3 separate regions of the Homo sapiens genome follow, and regions 2 and 3 are each linked to region 1. The links are contacts of gene promoters, found by promoter capture Hi-C in human tissues and cell types (Jung and others, 2019). All regions are on one chromosome and are shown on one strand. The core of a region is centred on a gene start or on the middle of the fragment in contact, and the rest is flanking DNA. Distances in the headings are between cores, read along the strand shown. Region 1 holds the start of GSDMB (gasdermin B). Region 2 has its middle 15 kb from the start of ZPBP2. Region 3 overlaps GSDMA (gasdermin A).

Region 1 (2,802 bases), core at 226-2,725:
AAATCCCAGCTTTGCCACTTATTAGCCATGTTGCTGTGTCAACTTCTCTGAGCTTCAGTTTATTCCACTGTTGTGTAAAGATAATGCCTCTTAGGGCTGTTGTGAGCATTAGCACAGTGCCTGGCATATAGTAAATACTCAATATATGGTAGCCATATTATTATAATTGTAATTGTTACTACCACCACTGTCGTCTATTTATTTATTTATTTATTTATTTTTTTGAGACTGAGTCTTGCTCTGTTGCCCAGGCTGGAGTGCAGTGGCACCATCTTGGCTCACTGCAACCTCCGCCTCCCAGGTTCAAGCAATTCTCATGCCTCAGCCTCCTGAGTAGCTGGGATTACAGGTGTGTGCCAAAACATCTGGCTAATTTTTTTTTTTTTTTTTTTTTTGGTAGAGACGGGGTTTCGCCATGTTGGCCAGGCTGGTCTTGAACTCCTGGCCTCAAGTGATCTGCCTGCTTCGGCCTCTGAAAGTGTTGGGATTACAGGCATGAACCACCACGCCTGGCCTGTCATCCCTTCAAATGTTCTTTCAGAACTGAGGCATGCAGAGGCTGGAAGACAGGCTGGGCTCACCGGGGTGGTTATCTCTGAGAGAGGACATGGGTGAGGTCAGAGGCCTCTCCCTGGAGAAGGAGGTAGGTGGAGAAGCCAGATGGCATCCAGATAAGGAAGACCAGCATCTCCTTGAGAGTGTACACGGGAGCACGAGATGGGGAGGGAGGCTGAGTGCTCCTTACAGGCCCACCCTGTTGCCTCCAGGTGTTAGCTGCTGTTGTCCTGGGTCTTCAGTGTTGACCGTCGCATGGCATTTGGGCAGCTGGTTCTGCTGGGTTATGGTCCTCATGTCCCTGGCACAGACACAGCCATTGCCTGCTGGCACTTGATACCTACTCATATTCCATTTCTCTATTCCAAACACACTGGATTGCATGGCCCAGGGCGCCACGGTGTGCACCATTGTCTGGCCCACACTCACCTAGAATACATACCAGGATCTCCTACCCACTCCTTAGGTACAAGAAGAAGAAGGGGTTCTGGCCGGGCATGGTGGCTCACACCTGTAATCCCAGCACTTTGAGAGGCCGAGGTGGGTGGGTCACAAGGTCAGGAGATTGAGACCATCCTGGCTAACACGGTGAAACCCCGTCTCTACTAAAAAACACACACAAAAAAATTAGCTGGGCGTGGTGGCAGGCACCTGTAGTCCCAGCTACTCGGGAGGCTGAGGCAGGAGAATGGCGTGAACTTGGGAGGCGGAGCTTGCAGTGAGCCGAGATTGCGCCATTGCACTCCAGCCTCGGCGATAGAGCAAGACTCCGTCTCAAAAAAAAAAAAAAAAGGGGGGTTCTGGCCTTAATCTGCCTCCAGCTCAGTTATAAGGTGGCTTATCTAAAGGCTTGGGAGGTGGGGCACCCAGCCCTACCCACCCGTCCAGGAAGTTCCACACCTGGACAACTTTCAGTTTCATTATTTTAGCTTCCTGAGATTCAGAGGCCAGGAACTGTGCAGAGATCTGTGGGGATTCTCACAACTTCCATTTCTGGTGAACAGCTGAGGTCAGAGAGGAGGTGGGTACCACTTGAGATGGGCCTGTGGTTCCCGGGTACTGTCTTTCCAGACACCTAGAATTCCCAGGTTGGTAGTGAACTGAGAGTCAACCACCATGATGGGGCCAGAGACAGAGGAGGAAGCAGTGAGTGGATAAGTGCCTGTGCTGGGCAGAAGGGATATAGGGGAAGGTGGCCAAAGGTAGGATGGGGAAGTGGATCCCAGGAAGCTTTTGTTTCTTCTGAGGCCAATTTACCACCACCTCATTGGGAAATTGTTGGTAGGGAGGCACCCATCCAATTGCCTTGCAGAATACAGCAAGGCAGGGAGCCCAAGAATCAGAGCCAAGGGAAGAAACGACCAGTTGAGGTTAGTAATGTGAAGTCTGGCAACCGTGCCCGTCATTCCTCCCTGGTTCCTCTGTTCATCAACGTTGGGGCTAGTCTGGCTGGGGCATGGTGGGCCTGCCTTTCCATCCCTTGGGCCCCTTGGAACAAGGGGGCAACTCTGCTGTGGGAGATGTAGAAAATGGGTCTCACTTTCTCTATTTGGGGCAATAGCTGCTACTTTTTTCCTCCAGATGGGTACCATGAGGGGCAGAGGAGAATCTGGGATCTGTGATGTTTAGCCCTCTTTACTGAGTCATGGCTGCCTCACGTTCTAGAAGTAAGGCAGGCAAATCATTCCAGGTACTGATTGTCCTGGAACCTTTGGCTCTTCCTTGACCTCATGTCACGTGCGTCCATGTGAAGAGAGTCCACGAAACGGGCTTTATATGAGCAACAAGGCTGGGTGCAGGCAAGCTGAGTCCAAAAAAGGGGTCAGCAAAGGGTGGTGGCATTATCATTAGTTCTTATATGTTTGGGATAGGCTTACAAAGTACATTCTCAAGGGTGGAGAAATATTACAAAGTACCTTCTTAAGGGCAGGGGAGAATATTACAAAGTACCTTCTTAAGGGCGGCGGCGGGGAGACTATATTGTATCAGGGTGGGGCAGGAACAAATCACAATGGTGGAATGTCATCAGTTAAGGCTATTTTCATTTCTTTTGTGGATCTTCAGTTGCTTCAGGCCATCTGGATGTATACATGCAGGTCACAGGGAATATGATGGCTTAGCTTGGGTTCAGAGGCCTGACACCTCAGGCTGCCAAATGTGGAAGATTTAAATACTTGAACCAATACCCTCCTCCCAAAAACTGAAATTGGCTTCTGTTTCTGAGTTGGTCCAGGCGCAATGTTCAGC
Region 2 (2,797 bases), core at 118-2,617, 35 kb after region 1:
GACAAAACTGTAAATATATAACACACTTAGAAAACCACGGCAGGATACATAAGCAGTACTGGTAAAATTTAGCCCCCAATATGCGGTGGAATTAGAACTGCTTTATTTTGGAAAGATACAGTTTGAGTATCCCTAATTTGAAAATCTAAGATTTGAAACTTTTCTAAGTGTCAACATGATGTTCAAAGGAAATACTCATTGGAGCACTTTTGATTTCGGATTAGGGATGCATTTTTGATTTTTGCATTAGGGATGCTCAACCAGTAGATATAATGCAAATATTCCAAAATCTGAAATCTGAAACACTGCTGGCCCCAAGGTTTTTTGTCTTTTTTTTTTAAAGAGGGTCTTGCTCTGTCACTGAGGATGAAGTGAAGTGGCATAATCATAGCTCAGCCTGTGAGTAGCTGAGACTACAGGTACATGCCACCATACCTAGCTATTTAATTTTTTTTTTTTTGTAGAGACGGGGTCTCACTATGTTGCTCAGGCAGGTCTCAAACTCCTGGCCTCAAGTGATCCTCCTGCTTCAGCCTCCTGAAGTGCTGGGACTACAGATGTTAGCCACCATGCTTGGCCCCAAGTATTTTGAATAAGGGATACTCAACCTGTATGGTGATTGGAAAAAGTAATGAGATATATTTATCAATGTTAATTAGCAATCTGTTATAGTTATGCAGGAAACAAAGCCAGCTCACAGTGAAAATAAAACATCACTATCTTGACAGAAAGTCCTCATTTCAGAATAGCTACCTATCAGCAACTGGTTATCATTAGGTTAAAGGAAGAAAAAAAAGTATACCATGCTAACACTGATCAAAGGAAAGCTCGAGTAGCTATATTAATTTTGGACAAAGTAGATTTCTGAACAAGGAAAATTATCAGGGATGAAGAATGGTATTACATAATGATAAAGGGGTCAATTCTCCAGGAAGACATAACAGTCGTTTATAGGTGCCTAACAACAGAGCATCAAAATAGGTGGGTTAAAAACTAACAGAACTGCAAAGAGAAATAGACAAACCCATTATTATCCTTGGAAACATCAACACTCTTCTATCAGTGACGGACAAATGCAGCAGGCAGAAAATCGGTAAAGATATAGTTGAATTATGGCATCATCAATCAACTGGATCTAATTGACATTTACAGAATCTCCATCCACCAATAGCAGAATACATATTCTCCTAAAGCTCACATGAAACATTCACCAAGATAAACAACATTCTGGACATTGTTAACAGAGTACCTGAGCAAAAAATTTTTAAGAGATGCTTATGTTGCCCAGGCTGGTCTCAAACTCCTGGCCTTAAGCGATCCTCCTACCTCAGCCTCCCGAGTACTGATCACATTTAAAACAATAAAAGCAAGCCGGGCCTGGTGGCTCATGCCTGTAATCCCAGCATTTTGGGAGGCCGAGGCGGGCGGATTGCAAGGTCAGGAGTTCAAGACCAGCCTGGCCAGTATGGTGAAACCCTGTCTCTACTAAAAATACATAAAAATATTAGCCAGGCATGATGGCGGGCGCCTGTAGTCCTAGCTACTTGGGAGGCTGAGGCAGGAGACTCGCTTGAACCCGGGAGGCAGAGGTTGCAGTGAGCTGAGATTGCACCACTGCACTCCCTGTGGGCGACAGAGTGAGACTCCGTCTCAAAAAAAAAAAAAAAAAAAAATCCATACACAGTAAGCCTGAAGACCACAATGGAATTAGACTAAAAATCAATAATGGAAAGATAGCTGGAAAATTAAAAGATATTTGGAGATTAAACAATAGGCATCTAAATAACACATGGGTCAAAGAAATCTCAAAAGAAATTTTAAAATATTTTAAACTAAACAAAAATGAAAATACAACTTATAAAAACTTGTAGGATTCAGCAAATGTTTAGAGGGAAATTGATAGCATTGAATGCACATATCAGAAAATAGGAAAAATATAAAATCAATAATCTAAGCATGTGCCTTAGATTAGAGGTACAAGTTTCTGGAAACTACAGGAAGAAGAGCAACATAAACCTAAAGCAGGCAGAAAAAAAGAACTAATAAGAATTAGAGCAACAATCAATTAAATTGAAAGCAGGGAATCAACAGAGAAAATCAAGGAAACCAAAAGCTGGTTCTTAGAAAACATCAGTAAAATTGATAAAACTCTGGCCAGGCTAACCAAGAAAAAAAAGGGGAAGACACAAATTACTAATATCAGAAATAAAAGAGGGATTATCACTACTAAACATTAATGTCATTAATGACATTAAAAAGATAATAAAGGAATATTATAAATAATTCTATAATTTGATAATTGAGATGAAATGAACAAATTACTTAAAGGACAAAACCTACCAAAATGTATACAAGAAGAAACAGATACTCTGAATAGGTCTAGATCTATTAAAGAAATTGAATTTTTTTTTTAATTTTTTATTTTTATTTATTTTTTTTGAGACAGAGTCTTGCTCTGTTGCCCAGGCTGGAGTGCAGTGGCGTGATCTCGGCTCACTGCAACCTCTGCCTCCTGGGTTCAAGCAATTCTCGTGCCTCAGCCTCCTGAGTGGCTGGGATTACAGGTGCCCTCCACCACGCATGGCTAATTTTTGTATTTTTAGTAGAGACGGGGTTTCACCGTGTTGGCCAGGCTGGTCTCCAACAACTGAGCTCAAGTGATCTGCCAGCCTCGGCCTCCCAAAGTACTGGGATTACAGGTGTGCACCACCATGTCCAGCCAGAAATTGAATCAATAATTAATAACCTTCCAAGACAGAAAGCATCAGGCCCAGATAGTTTTGTTGTTGTTGTTGTT
Region 3 (2,700 bases), core at 58-2,557, 56 kb before region 1:
AAATAACAAAAAATGAGAAATAGAGAGAGAAAGGAGGAGTGGGCATAAGCCCCTGGGATAAGACAGGGATCCTCCAGAATGGCTCCATCCTTAGGCGAAATCTGCATCTCCACTGGCTGCAGCTACTCCCAGACTCTCCCCAGCATCTGCTGTTTTTCCCTCACCAGCTTTAGCTGCACGGGTAGGATCTTTTTCTCCATGGATTTCACCAGCAGCTTCTGTTGGGCTTCACTTAGCTCTGGAGAAAAAAAGCAGAGAAAGATGTGTGTTGCTGGTGCAGAGGGGACTACAGCCTCCAAATAGCGCACTTCCAGAATTTCAGCCTTCATTCATTGGATGTAATTACAACGCAGGTGTTAAGGGAGCCATAGCTGAGGGGTCCACTTTGGTCTTGGAGTCGGAGGGCAGGCTTCCTAAGGGAACAAACGTTTTGGCTTACACCTGAAGGACCACAGAGTTTTTCTAAGTGGAAAACTAGAAAATGTGGAGGGAAGAAGAGCTCTTAGGGGCAAGATAAGAAAATGTTACTCCCTGAAGTTAAAGCTAACAGGTATCAGGATAGAAGTGATGAGCTTAGCTATATGCAGAAATTTTAAATATGTTGCTGATAAAACTAGGGTTATTCAACCTCTATTAGCAAGACTAGGCTGTCTTCTCAGACTACCCAATGTGACCAAGCAAATCCTTAGGAATGAAACCAATTTTTTTTTTTTTTGATGGAGTCTCGCTCTGTTGCCCAGGCTGGAGTGCAATGGAGTGATCTCGGCTCACTGCACCCTCCCCCTCCTGGGTTCAAGCGATTCTCCTGCCTTAGCCTTCAGAGTAGCTGGGATTACAGGCACCTGCCACCACGCCCGGCTAATTTTTCTATTTTTGGAAGAGGCGGGGTTTCACCATGTTGGCCAGGCTGATCTCGAACTCTTGATCACGGGTGATCCATCCACCTTGGCCTCCCAAAGTGCTGGGATTACAGGCATGAGCCACTGCAGCCAGCCATGAAACCAATTTATAAAAATGTAGATATAAACTACTTAACTGTGGTATAATTTGTCATTCATTCATTTATTCATCCATTTGGGAATTGATTCAAGTGATTCATTCCTATTACTGAAAAGGTCTATAAATGAAGACCTTATTCCCCACTTACCTGTTAGGGCTCCAACGAAATAGAGGATGGCGCCCACGGCCTCCTTTGATAGCAGGACATCTTTTGGGAGTGCCTCCAGGGTCACTTCATGTCCCTTGTCTAGAGCCCCTTCAAGCTGTGGGGGAAGGTGGGCGACTATTGAAGATAACATAGGAAAGGGCCCAACCCAGGGCCCAGCACATAATAACCCCTTGACATGCGGAAACTCTCTCCATTTCCTGATTTCTTTTTCGAGGCCTCATGTCCTGAAGAGTACTGGACTCCTGGGTTCCTTGTTTCCTGAGTTTTGGACTCTGGAAAGAGAAGGTTCCAGCCCCTCCAGCAGAAGTCCCTTCTGGCCATCAGAGGGAGCATGTGCCTTGGGGGAACCCACTGTTTGCCCTTTTCCAGGGGACAAAGGGAGGAGCAGTGGCCTGGCAGCCTTGGGGCACGTGGCCAGCCTTGGGGAAGGTATCTAAGGTGGACTCCCCTGGCCACCCACCTCCTGCCCCCGTCAGATCTCCCTACCTGCTGCAATACCCGCCCCCACCAAATCTTCACCAAAACATGCCTTCTCCCACCCTTCCCCACTTCCACTAGGTCCTCACTGCGAGCTCAAGGTCTTGTAGCTCCTTTTTCTTCCCTAGAAGTTTGCTGAGGGAGCTGAGCAGGGAGCTTTGCCCTACTCGGCTCAGCTTCTCCACTTGTTGGGTCTCTCTCTGAACTTCTTCTTTTAGTGTCCTGAAGCCTTCGTGTACGTCCCCTATGGGGACAATAATGGGACACACAGCCCTCCATCGGGCACCTTCCTCTCCAGTCAGCATTCCCCCTGCAGGGCTCCTACACTCAGCCCCCTTTAGGTACCCATGCTCTACCCCCCAGTTTGAGCCTGGCCCCATTTTTCTTTACCAAGGAATGCGGTGACAGAACTATCCACCAACCCTAACCTGAGGGTTGGGGCGAGAAGGTGGGCCAGGATGCATGTATCATCTAACCCAACAGTTAATCTTCCTGAGATCCCAGGCCTTATCCCATATCAGTACACACTTGACTTTTCTTTGAGACTCCAGCAAAAAGTGGAGAAAGAAAGTCTGTTTTCCCTTCCCATGAGTTAGCTGACAAAGAATGACTTCGCCTTCTCCTCTCTCTGCCCCTAATGCTACCTCCATGCCAAAGTCTTGGGAGAAACTCACAAAGTTCCTTACCAACATCAGATGCCTGGATAACTGAGAAAAAAAGGAAAAAAAAAAGATAAGAATGCAATCCTTCAGAATGGCAGCCATACCCAGGGGTTGAGACACTAAGGAAGATGAGGAAATACATCCTGCCTGTCTCCTGGGAGAGCCCAGCTACCTTGTTCCTGGCATTACTGTGACTCAGTGGCTCTGGCCCCAGTTGCTGGGCGGCCGAGTTGCAGATGTGTGTGTAGCAGGTTATAGCTACTAAGACTCTTAATTTTTTTTTTTTTTTTCTAGGCCAGGCTCAGTGGCTCACACCTGTGATCCCAGCACTTTGGGAGGCCAAGGTGGGAGGATCACCTGAGGTCAGGAGTTTGAGACCAGCCTGGCCAACAT

The links. Contacts are between HindIII fragments. The study calls those that stand out against the background at their distance.
Region 2: a fragment that was not itself captured here is called in contact with the fragment with the promoter of GSDMB in region 1 in 2 of the 25 tissues and cell types used here (lymphoblastoid cells and thymus).
Region 3: a fragment that was not itself captured here is called in contact with the fragment with the promoter of GSDMB in region 1 in 3 of the 25 tissues and cell types used here (lymphoblastoid cells, ovary and spleen).

Annotation. Positions count from the first base shown.
Region 1 is chr17:39,917,308-39,920,109 of GRCh38, reverse strand. GSDMB (gasdermin B) reads left to right here and starts at 1,475. Exons shown (of 11, transcript NM_001165958.2): 1 at 1,475-1,576; 2 at 2,780-2,802. The coding sequence starts at 2,794. RefSeq lists a cis regulatory region at 1,209-1,222 and promoters at 1,201-1,563, 2,287-2,695, 2,246-2,802. The HindIII fragment of the contact is 12,682 bases long and covers 1-2,802 here.
Region 2 is chr17:39,881,751-39,884,547 of GRCh38, reverse strand. No RefSeq gene overlaps it. Among named protein-coding and RNA genes, the nearest start is that of ZPBP2, 15 kb to the right of the region's middle. The HindIII fragment of the contact is 8,844 bases long and covers 1-2,797 here.
Region 3 is chr17:39,973,462-39,976,161 of GRCh38, reverse strand. It overlaps GSDMA (gasdermin A), which reads right to left. Exons shown (of 12, transcript NM_178171.5): 8 at 2,332-2,352; 9 at 1,735-1,889; 10 at 1,148-1,262; 11 at 165-238. Among named protein-coding and RNA genes, the nearest start is that of PSMD3, 6.0 kb to the left of the region's middle. The HindIII fragment of the contact is 7,168 bases long and covers 1-2,700 here.